3 separate regions of the Homo sapiens genome follow, and regions 1 and 3 are each linked to region 2. Evidence: promoter capture Hi-C in human tissues and cell types (Jung and others, 2019). All regions are on one chromosome and are shown on one strand. The core of a region is centred on a gene start or on the middle of the fragment in contact, and the rest is flanking DNA. Distances in the headings are between cores, read along the strand shown.

Region 1 (3,885 bases), core at 784-3,283, 320 kb after region 2:
GAGGACCCTCCCCTGGAGTCTCCAGTGGGAACACAGCCCTGCCGAAGCCTTGATCTCAGACTTCTGGCCTCCAGGACAGTGGGGGTGGGTTTCTGTTGCTTTAAGCCCCCGAGTTTGCTACAGCAGCCCAGTCCCCGAACCTTCCTGACGGCCGCGCCCAGTCCCCGTGCCCTCCTGACAGCCGCGCGGCCACACTGGGACGGATCCATCTTCCCAGGCCTCGTCTGGCTCTTCCCATCAGCCTCGGGGCCCAGCTGCCCCTCAGACGCTCAGTCAAGACTCATCTTTGGTCTCAGGGCTGCTCAAAACACAAAGTCAAAAGCACAAACAACTCCCCTCTAGGAATGTAAATTTTATAACTTAGAAGAAATGGACCAATTCCTTAAAAACCACAACAAAAACTCACCCAAAATGTAACTGATAACGAACAGCCCTTCAGCTATTAAAGAAATTAAATCTGTAAAGATATGAAAAGGAAGCATCCGGCTGGACGCGGTGGCTCATGCCTGTAATCCCAGCACTGTGGGAGGCCAAGGCAGGTGGATTACCTGAGGTTGGGAGTTCAAGACCAGCCTGACCAACATGGAGAACCCCATCTCTACTAAAAATACAAAAATTAGCCGGGCATGGTGGCGTATGCCTGTAATTCCAGCTACTCGGGAGGCTGAGGCAGGAGAATCACTTGAACCTGGGAGGTGGAGGTTGTGGTGAGCCCAGATCATGCCATTGCACTCCAGCCTAGGCAACAAGAGCGAAACTCTGTCTCAAAAAAAAAAAAAAAGAAAAGAAAAATAAATAAAAGTAAACGTCCAAGCAAAGATGGTTTGACTGAATCCACCAAACCTTAATAAAAGAAATAACACCAATTCTACACAACCTCTTCCAAAAAACAGAAGAGGAGGAAACACTTCCCAGTGTGTTTCATCAGGCCAGCATTACCGTAATACTAAAACCAGAAAAAGACAGTACAAGAAAAGAAAACCAGAGGGGTGCAGTGGCTCACGTCTATAATCCCAGCACTTTGGGAGGCCGAGGCAGGCGGATCATGAGGTCAGGAGATTGACACCATCCTAGCTAACACAGTGAAACCCCGTCTCTACTAAAAATACAAAAAATTAGCTAGGCGTGGTGGTGGACACCTGTAGTCCCAGCTACCTGAGAGGCTGAGTCAGGAGAGTCACTCAAACCGGGAGGCGGAGGTTGCAGTGAACCGAGATCACACCACTGCACTCCAACCTGGGTGACAGAGCGAGACTCCATCTCAAAAAAAAAAAAAAAGAAAAGAAAAGAAAAGAAAAGAAAAAACCACAGGCCGGACACAGTGGTTCACACCTGTAATCCCAGCACTTTGGGAGGCCAAGGTGGGTAGATCACTTGAGGCCAGGAGTTCGAGACCAGCCTGGCCAACATGGCAAAACCTTGTCTCTGCTAAAAACAAAAAATGAGCCAGGTGTGGTGGTGTGCACCTGTAATCCCAGCTACTCGGGAGGCTGAGGCACAAGAATCATTTGAACCCAGGAGGCAGAGGTTGCAGTGAGCCAAGATCACACCACTACACTCCCAGCATGAGTGACAGAGTGAAACTGTCTCAAAAAAAAAAAAAAAAAAAAAAAAAAAAAGAGTCCAAGCACAGTGGCTCACACCTGTAATCCCAGCACTTTGGGAGGCTGAGGCAGGTGGATCATGAGGTCAGGAGATCGAGACCACCCTGGCTAACATGGTGAAACCCCGTCTCTACTAAAAATAGAAAAAATTAGCCAGGCATGTTGGCAGACGCCTATATTCCCAGCTACCCGGGAGGCTGAGGCAGGAGAATTGCTTGAACCCAGGAGATGGACATTGCAGTGAGCTGAGATCTCACCACTGCACTCTGGCCTGGGCGACAGAGCAAGACTCTTGTCTCAAAAAAAAAAAGAAAGAAAGAAAACAAAGCCAAACCGCAGACCAATATACCTCATGAATATAGACAGAAAACAAAACCTCAGCAAGATATTAGCAAATTGGTAATATCAGAAATATGTAAAAAGAATTAGACACCATGCTCAACTGGACTGTGGATTATATTCCATGATGAGGAATGCAAGGTTGGTTCAATCTGAAAACCAATCAGCCAGGCACGGTGGCTCACATCTGTAATCCCAGCACTTTGGGAGGCCAAGGCAGGTGGATCACTTGAGGTGAGGAGTTTGTGACCAGCCTGGCCAACATGGTGAAACCCCATCTCTACTAAAAATACAAAAAATGAGCCGGTCATGGTGGCAAGCACCTGTAATCCCAGCTACTCAGGAGGCTGAGGCAGGAGAATCACTTGAACACAGGAGGTGGAGGCTGCAGTAAGCGAAGATCATGCCACTGTACTCCAGCCTGGGCAACGATTGTGAAACTCCATCAAAAAAAGAAAAAACAAAAACAAAAAGCAAATCAACCAATTAAAACACTAAGAAAAACCATATGATTGTATCTCTGATAGATACAGGAAAAAACATTAGACAAAATTCAACACTATTCATAATAGAAACTCAGCAAATTAAGAAGAGAAGGAAACTTCTTCAGCCTAATAAAAGGCATCTACAGAATCCATAGCCCTCATACTATTTAATGGGGAAAAACCGAAAGCTTCACTGTAAGATCAAGCACAGGACAAGGACAGCCACTCCCACTGTTTCTATTCCATATCACACTAGACTTGCTAGCCAGAGTAATAAGGCAAGAAAAAAGAAAGCAACATGGATGCCGCCAAAGGCACTGACGGAGTGAAAGTTTACACCAAGTTTCAGAATTGGAGAAACTAACCTATCCTGAAACACACATGAGGACAACGGTTCCCTCTGTGGGGGGGGTTACCTGGGGAGAGGCATGAGGAATGTTCAGGGTGTTGTTCTGTCTTGACCAAGGAGTGTTCTGTCTTGACCGAGCTGTGGGTTACTGGTGTCACATTTGTTAAAACTCATCCAGTTATAACCTAAAATATGTGCATTTTATGTTAGCGGTTGAGGACTCACCACTGCAAACCCTGCAGGCTCCATTTGGGGAGGCCCCCCTACATGTGGCTACTGTGCCCATAGCTGCCCAAGCAAAGGCCCCACGAGGACCTGGGCCTGTTGGTGCAGAGCCCTGTGAAGCGGAGGCTGCACCCCCAATAGGGCAATACCCAGCACCACCCCCATTACAGACCTTCCAGACCACCCTAGCATGTTCTCACACATGCTCAAAGAGAAAAGGCATCTCTCATCTTCGAGTGTTCCCTGTTCACCCTCTTTCCTTAATTTGCCTTACATGGTCACCCCTGAAAAGCCCCTTCTGAGCTATCCTTCCCTCCAGGTCCCAGAGATGCACAGCTAGGCACCCACAGGCCGCAGGCAGCTCCCGCCCAGATGATCCTCGGTGCTCCAGCACAGGGCCTCAGGCTGAGGTGTGGGGAGAAGTGTCCAGCCATGCAGCTGTGTGGCTGGTAACTCACCCCACTATTCCCAGGGGCTCAGAAGGGGACAGACGGTCTCAAGAGACAGGTCGGCCATCGCTGCACAGTGGGGGAGGCCACAGCTCTGTGTCCCAGACAAACGCCCAGCACGAAGGTCACACAGCCACCTCACTTGGGCGGGGGGTCGGGGGGGGGGGTCATGCCCAGAAGCAGCCCCTGTGTCTGGCCCAGCCCCTGGCCTGGCCTGGGGTCTGCAGAGCAGGCAGATGCCCTCCCCCTCCCCTTCAGGCCCATCACTTTGTGGGGTCCTCTGAAGCTGGGCCTGAGGGGGCTGCAGCCCCCAGACTGGTTTCCCCCAGTCCAGGCCCTCCTGGAGGCTCATGGCTTGGCACAGGCAGAAACCAGGGAGTTTGTGTGGGGAGGGCAGGGCAGGGCGGGCCACACATGGAAGGGCATCCTCTCTT
Region 2 (3,967 bases), core at 225-2,724:
CCGCCTCTCTCCACGGAAAAGGCCCTGGCGGCGCTCACAGGCCCCACGGGTCTCCCCACGCACTCGGAACCACCAGGCGCCGGCTGAAAACTTTGCGCCCCTGACTCCAGCTCCTCTGGCCTCCCCCTCCCCCGCGAGGGGCCTGCCTCGGGCAGGACCTTCAGACAGTGAGGGGTGGGCAAGGGGGAAATTCCCGTCCTGGCCAACACCCTTGGGGCCGCGAGGAGTTAGGACCTTCCCTCCCTCCCCGACTCCTCTCCCCTCCAAGCCCGCGGGGGCCTCACCGCTTCGCTTCCACCTTCTCCGTCCGGAGCCGGCCCTGGGGAAGGGAGTCCGGAGGCGCCCGGTGGCCCCCCAAGCCCGCCACTCTCAGAAATTAGAGCGCGGTCCTCCAGCCCCTGCCCTGCACCCCCGCGCGCCCGGCCCACGCCAGGTCCCACCAACAGGGGCGCGCGGGGGCGCATGCCGAGGGAGTCCCGCGCCCCGGGCCCCCACCCTCCCCACGCCCCCCGCCCCCCGCCCCCCGCCGGCCGGGAAGGATATGGGTTGCAGACCAGCCGGAGGCACCAGCTGCGCGGCCGCGTGGTCTGACCGAGGCAGAAGAAGACCGTGGCCGCCAAGGCCGGGTACGGGACGCGCTGCTCCTCGTCGGCACCCAGCTCCGCGCCGCGCTCGGCCGCCGGGCTCTCGGAGGGTGACACGCCGAGCTCGGACCCCCGCTCCGCCTCGCGTCCCGGCGCCCCGGGGCTCTCCGGGGACGCCCCCACCAACGCCGCAGGGCCAGGGGGCGGCGCGCCCAGGGGCACCCGGACCTCGTCGGCGGCCCGTGCGCCCTCGGTCATGGTGGCGGCCGGCAGCACCTGCAGAGGACAGGGGGTGACCCGGGGCCGGTGGCGACGCCCCCGCCCTGCCTCCCGCGGCGCGGAGCTGCGGGAACAGCCGCGGCCGCCGGGATGTCTTTGTCTTTTCTTATTAGAGACAAACGCGCCCCCCGCCCCCGCCCGCCCCCTCCCTCCCTCCAGCGGCCCCACCCCCACCCCGAGGGGCTCCCCGGCCCGCTTCGCGCAAGTTGAAGAGGGTCCCGGGCGCGCGTCCTCGCCGCGTCTCACCTCGCTCTGCTGGCCGGCGGCGTCCCCGCGGGCATCGCCCGGGCGGCGCGGTCACCGCGGACCCCGCTCGGCGCCCGGCCCCGGCCCCGGCCCCCAGCGCCTCCGCCCCCGGCCCCGGCCCCGGCCCCCAGCGCCTCCGCCCCCGGCCCGCGTCCCCAGCCCGCCCGGCTCCCGGCCGCGGCTCGACTCCGGCTCCGGCTCGCCCGGCGGAGGCGACGGCGGCGGCCTCGGCGCGGCGTGGAGGCCGCTGAGCGGACGGGTGAGGCCGGGGCGCGGGGCGCGGGGCGCGGGGCGCGGGCCGGGGACCGGTGAGGCAGCGAGCGAGCCTCGAGCCCGTCCGCGCGCGGCGCAGGAAACTTCGGGCTGAGCGGCGGGGGGCGGGGCGGGGCGGGGCCGGCGCGACCGGGGCGGGGCCAGCGTGGCCGGGGCGGGGCCGGGGGCGGGGCGGGCGGGGGGGTACTGGGGAGGATCCGCCCCCGGCCCGAGACGCGCGCGCCCGAGCGACCCCTCCCTGTCGCCGCCCGGCGCCCCGCCCCCCCCCGGGTGCGGGAAGTTGGACCCCGCCCGCGCCCCCTCCACGCCCCCGCACTGGGCTCCCCGCTTTTCGTGCTCCCCAACAATGCCGGGCGTGGGGTGCACCAGGGGGCGCTCGCGGGAGGCTCCGGCGGGGTGGGAGGGGGAGCACCTACGTCCTTCCCTGCCCCCAACTGCGGGGGCGGCCGAGCCGCCGATGCCGCGCCCCTCCCCCTCCCGCTCCGGCTCCCCCTCCCCCTTCGCGCTGCCGCGCGCGCCGCCGCCGCCCCCACCCCCACCCCCACTACGACGCGGGCCCGGGTCGGCGGAGGGGCGGGGACCGGGCGGGCGTGGAAGGCGAGAGGCTGCGTGCCCCTTCCCCGCCGCGTGTGTGTCCCGGGTGTGCCCGCGCGCGCGTGTGTGATGGGGCGCGGGGGCGGGCGGGGGTGTGCTTTACGGCTGGGCGCTCCTGCACTCGCATCTCTCCCCGACACGCACGGGCAGTTTCCGCGAACTTGTCCTCGTCTCCGGTCCCCTCCCGCGTGGGGATCTGGGGGACCCTGGGGACGGCAGCCTGGTGCTCCTGCATCCTCCAACCCCGCTGCCTCAGCGAGACTCACCCAGGGGCCCCCGAGGAGAAGTGCAGGCCCCTTCCCCCTGCCAGCAGCTGCTCCTTCAGCCAGGCCAGCAGAAGGGCCTTCCCCTGGACCCTCAGAGCAAGTGGTTTGGTCGGGAAGGGGTGGACCCTTCAGACATTGGGGATGGCCAGGCCCTTGTCCCAGGGAGGGCTGGCCGCACCTCGAGGTGCCAGCAGGTGGGGGCAGGTGCCCAGGCTCCTGACTCCCCCCAGGGCACCCCTCCAGGCTGGAAGGGTGGTTTTGCTTCTGGGACCACTGCTTTGTGCACCAGGGAGCTTGAGCTCCCAGGTGTGCACCTCAGCACGCCCGCCAACAAGGGGCCCCTGGTAGTGGGAGAGACCCCTTCTCCCTCCAGACAAAGAGGCCCTGCTCCAGGGCGCACCCTGAGACCCCAGACCCGGAGAGGCTGTGGGGCGGCTGTGGCTTCCCACCTGCGGGTGAGCAGCAGAGAAGCAGGACCTCCCCCGGGTGGGCCACATCGTGCAGGGTGAAGAAGAGGCCCTGCCCAGCTGGGGCCCGGAAGGACACACAGCACCTGGGGTGGGCCGAGGAACTGGAAGGCAGGAGTGTGGGGGCCTGGCTGGGGTACAGGTCCTTTCAGCAGCACCTCCTCCTGTATACGGGAACTTTCAAGAAAAGGAAAACATTCAGTCTATTTTAATGCAACTACTCAGCGATGGAGGGCCACAGCTGGTGAATTAGGCCTTCAAAGGTCCAATTAAGGTTCCAGCCACAGAGGAGCAGGACCTAGGAGAGCCCCGTGCTTTGGACACATCCGTGGAGGGAGGCTGGAGCAGGTGGGGAGACACAAACGCTGAATCGGAGTCCGGTCCAGAGGGCACTTGGAACCTCTGATCTTTTTATCAACACCCTGCTCGTTAAAAGTTAGGGTGGGCCAGGTGCAGTGGCTCACGCCTGTAATCCCAGCACTTTGGGAGGCCGAGGTGTGTGGATCACTTGAGGTCAGGAGTTCGAGACCAGCCTGACCAACATGGTGAAATCCCGTCTCTACTAAAATACAAAAATTAGCCAGGCATGGTGACATATGCCTGTAATCCCCGCTACTCGGGATGCTGAGGGAGGAGAATCACTTGAACCCAGGAGGCAGAGGTTGCAGTGAGCCGAGATCACGCCACTGCACTCCAGCCTGGGTGACAGAGTGGACTCTGCCTCAAAAAAATAATAAGTTAATTAATTAATTAATTAAAGCTAAGGCAAAGCCACAGACTGAAGCTCCAGATTCTAGCTGGGGGCTGTCGTTGATTTGCTGGACAAATGGTAGTTGAGGGTGGACAGTGCGCGGGGCCCGGTTGGAGGGTGGAGGTGCCTTGGCTGTGACCAGACAGACCCGGTTCTCATGCCTGCAGCTTCCGTCTTATGGGGAGGAGAAAACAGTTTCCAAACTAAGTGCCAGGGGGCGCCCAGATAGACGAGGGCGGGGCCTCTGTGAGGACAAGCCGGCAGCCGGAAGAGGAGCAGAGGCTCTTTCCAGCAGCAACGGCAGCCCATGCAAAGGCCCTGTGGCAGGCCGGAGGGAGCCGGGGAGCGGGAAGACCCAGAGGGCGCCTGGGAAGCATCTTGGAATTCTGAACACAGCAGCTGTTGCCCTCCCGGCCACACTCTGTCCTCCAGATGTCGGCAGAAGGGAAAAAGACCACGGACTTCTATAACAGACTTTTTTTTTTTTTTTTTTTTGAGACATAGTTT
Region 3 (3,577 bases), core at 1-2,500, 290 kb before region 2:
GGGAAGGCAGGTCTTCCCCTAGCACATGGGGACCCCGGCCTCGAGGGTGACCTCCCTACCCCGCCCCTGCCAGCCACCAAGCGCAGGTGCAGCGGGGGCCAGACTCCTGCCGGCCTCAGAGGACACCTGGCCCAGCACAGGCAGCTAGAAGGGCCGGTGGGCACCGGGGCCGGGAAGCCCCCACCTCACCACCTGAGGGCCCCTGGGAGGCTCCTCTGGCCTGGCTGGGCTGGGTCTGGGGCCGCCACAGGCCCCTCACGGGGCGGCAGAGGCAACTTCAGTGTCCCTGTTAGAGCAACACGGGTCCCTCCGTGGGGGGCTGGGTGCGGCCCCCTGCCGTGTATTTCCTCCCCAGGGAGTGGGGCCTCCCCGGGAGCTGACGCCACCACCCTGCTTAGCCCTCACAGGGCCCCAAGGTGTCCGAGTGTGTTGGGTCTGAACGCGAAATAAAGAAATCCTCTCAGCCCGCCTTTGCCAGCGTCGTCCCTCCCACCCCACCCAGACCACGTCCAACAGCCTGGGACTTTCGGGACCCTGGGGTCGGGGCACCGTGTGGAGTGAGAAAGGCGTGAAAGACAGCGGCTGCGGCCACCCAGGGCACCAGCCACATCCTCTTCCTCGTCCCCGCCCCTCAGCCTCCCTCCTCTGGCTCCTGGCTGGTGGGTCTGGGGGCAAGGCAGAGGCGCTCCAGGTGGAGGGGGGCGGGCCGGGGTGCCCACGCTGGGGTGACGCAAGAAGAAAACTCCCGGGCCTCAGAGTCGGCGCCGGAAACCTAGGTCTGGGTTTCCCTCGTGGTGGTTGTGTACTGAGGACCTGGAAGTGATCATATTTTGGATATATTCGGTTAAATAAAATCAGCGGTTAGGATTCACATCGCTGCTTCTTGCCTTTTAATGGGGCTGCTGAGCAAGATGGGTTCCCGTGGAGCCCGGCTGTGCCCCTCACCCCGATGGCGCTGCCCAGGCCTCGGGCTCCGCTCGGACGTGGGCCTGGCTGTGTCCGGGGTGTCCTGGGGCTCTCGGCCTCCCTGCTCCCAGCGTCCCTCCCGGCGTGCCCAGGCCTCGTCAGGGCCTCCTTCCCCTCCCTCGGCAGCTGAAGAAGTCCCCTTTGCCAGAGGACACGTGTCTGCGCCCTCTCGGGAGTGGGGCCCCTCAGATCCATCCAGAAGCAGGCAGTTGGGGGGCCCTGCGGGAGTGGGAGAGCTGAGGGCTAGAGTTCCATTGGCAGTTGGGCTGTGAAGCCGTGAGGTTCTGGGGAGAGAAGGAAGGTTCTGGAACGGCCCCGCTGCCCCACACCTGCCTCCCTGGGGACCCTGAGAAGGCAGCCAGACGAGGGCAGCAGCTCGTCCCTCAAGGCCCAGAGCTCTCACGGGACTTCCTCTGGCTCCTGACCCCCCTGGCCTGTGCCCAGCTCTGGGCAACCTCAGAGGCCCCAAGGCCCAAGCTACAGCCGAGGGCAGGGTGGCCGGTGCAGCCCAGCAGCCATGTCAGGTGACCAGAGCGGAGGAGCGGGGCCCAGGGAGGGGCTTGCCACAGGTGTGAGGGTGGGGACCGCTCTGCTTCTGACCCCGGGCTCCCTCCAGCTCGCTTGTTCCTGCCGCCCAGTGCTGTGTGTCTTCAGGCAGGGCCCTGGACTTGTCTGAGCCAAGCCCGTCTGGATCCTGTGTGACCCAAGGAGACGCGTTGAGCTCTGGGTGGTGGGCGAGGGTCCTGCGGGGGTTTGGGGCCTTGTTCCCGTAAGCTCCAGTGGGGGCCGGGCCCCAAGGGGCAAGCTCCCAAGATGCCTCCTTGTAGAGTTGGCTGACAGTGGACCCTCAGGGGCATCGGCCCCTTCCCAGCTGAGAGCCGTCACCCTGGAAGACCTGGGGCTCCTCCTGGCAGGAGGCCTGGCCAGCCCCGAGCCCTTGAGCCTGGAGGAGCTCTCGGAGAGGTATGAGTCCAGCCATCCGACATCCACGGCCTCTGTCCCCGAGCAGGACACCGCCAAGCACTGGAACCAGCTGGAGCAGTGGTGAGCCCTGCAGGGGGTGCTGGCGGGGGAGGACCACGTCGCCGCCGCCTCCGCCTCCACGGCGGGCACCGCCAGACTCGCCCACTCTCGCCCCGGCCAGGGTGGTGGAGCTGCAGGCCGAGGTGGCCTGCCTGCGGGAGCACAAGCAGCGCTGTGAGCGCGCCACGCGGAGCCTGCTGCGGGAGCTGCTCCAGGTGCGGGCCCGCGTGCAGCTGCAGGGCTCAGAGCTGAGGCAGTTGCAGCAGGAGGCGCGGCCGGCAGCCCAGGCCCCCGAAAAGGAGGCGCCGGAGGTGAGCGGCTCCCCCACCCACAGGTCGAGCTGCCCCTTTCCTGGGTGTTGGGGGCAGCTGCTTCTGGGCCTGGAGCCCAGCTCACCCCTGCTGCCCAGGCCCAGAGCTCCCAGGGGCCAGTGGTGCCGGAGCTGGGTGGACTCCAGGGGCAGGTGCCAGACCCGGGCCTAGGTCCAGCCCACAGCCTCCTCTTCCTCCTCGCAGTTCTCTGGTCTCCAGAACCAGATGCAGGCCCTGGACAAAAGGTACCCCCCACACACCTAGGGGCACAGGCCCAGGGCGGGGAGGTGGTGGCGAGAAAGCAGCGGCAGGTGTGGTGGGGGGTCCACATCTCCCGCTGGGTGTCGCTGGAGTGGGGGATACACATCCAGGTCCAGCTAGAAAAGGCCGGGTTTGTACGTGCCTGGGCGGCCTTCAGAGGCCCAGGAAAGCCATGGGAGGTGGCCACAGGGGCCCCTTGGCCAGACCCCCAGCCCGCCGAGGCTGCTCAGCCCGCCTGGGCCTCTCGGGAATGGCTTGTTGTGTCCCAGGCTGGTGGAGGTCCGGGAAGCCTTGACCCGGCTCAGGAGGAGGCAGGTGCAACAGGAGGCGGAGAGAAGGGGCGCCGAGCAAGAGGCCGGCCTCAGGTGGGCGCCCACCGCCCGTGGCTGGCTCCGGAGCTTGCGTGGGGTCATTTGAGAGTCCCTGGCTGAGCCAAGACACGGGTCCCCCTGCCGTGTGTCCCCAGTAACCCGGCGGGGCACCGCCCTCGGTGCCAAGCGTGCTGGGAAGCCTGGGCCCGCTGCGGACCCTCTGTGGGGAAGAGACTCGCAGCAGCCCTTCCCTGCCACCGGTGCTGTGTTTCCCATTCCTCTGTTTTCTGGTGGGGCAGGGGGCGGGGGTCGTACACCTCCTGCCTGGCCAGCCTGTGGGTCAGCCTCACCCTGCTGGGCCCTCCGGCCAGCTGGGCTGGTGTGACCACAGCCGACTTCTCTAGACTGGCCAAGCTGACCGACTTGCTGCAGCAGGAGGAGCAGGGCCGGGAGGTGGCCTGCGGCGCCCTGCAGAAGAACCAAGAGGACAGCAGCCGGAGGGTGGACCTGGAGGTGGCCAGAATGCAGGTACCACCAGGCCCAGGCTTCAGGGGGGCCGCCCAGAGGGCCGAGGAGGAGACCCTAACCCTCTCGGCCTGTGCCATCCGATACAGCGGCCGTTCACCATGTATCTGTGTCCACTGAAATCAGCTATAGTTGTAGACAATGTAAAACTCAATTCCTCAGCCGCACATGCCCCATTTC

What was found. Contacts are between HindIII fragments. The study calls those that stand out against the background at their distance.
Region 1: a contact is called between a fragment that was not itself captured here and the fragment with the promoter of CACNA1H in region 2, in 1 of the 25 tissues and cell types used here (lymphoblastoid cells).
Region 3: the fragment with the promoter of CCDC154 here is called in contact with the fragment with the promoter of CACNA1H in region 2 in 1 of the 25 tissues and cell types used here (pancreas).

What each region holds. Positions count from the first base shown.
Region 1 is chr16:835,237-839,121 of GRCh38, reverse strand. No RefSeq gene overlaps it. Among named protein-coding and RNA genes, the nearest start is that of GNG13, 36 kb to the right of the region's middle. The HindIII fragment of the contact is 6,474 bases long and covers 1-3,885 here.
Region 2 is chr16:1,150,613-1,154,579 of GRCh38, reverse strand. It overlaps CACNA1H (calcium voltage-gated channel subunit alpha1 H), which reads right to left and starts at 1,474. Exons shown (of 35, transcript NM_021098.3): 1 at 1,110-1,474; 2 at 544-860. The coding sequence starts at 842. RefSeq lists enhancers at 1-620, 1,995-2,575. The HindIII fragment of the contact is 19,639 bases long and covers 1-3,967 here.
Region 3 is chr16:1,442,229-1,445,805 of GRCh38, reverse strand. It overlaps CCDC154 (coiled-coil domain containing 154), which reads left to right and starts at 1,250. Exons shown (of 17, transcript NM_001143980.3): 1 at 1,250-1,490; 2 at 1,794-2,010; 3 at 2,111-2,300; 4 at 2,505-2,545; 5 at 2,831-2,926; 6 at 3,277-3,400. The coding sequence starts at 1,484. It overlaps CLCN7 (chloride voltage-gated channel 7), which reads left to right. Exons shown (of 25, transcript NM_001287.6): 25 at 1-871. The HindIII fragment of the contact is 26,646 bases long and covers 1-3,577 here.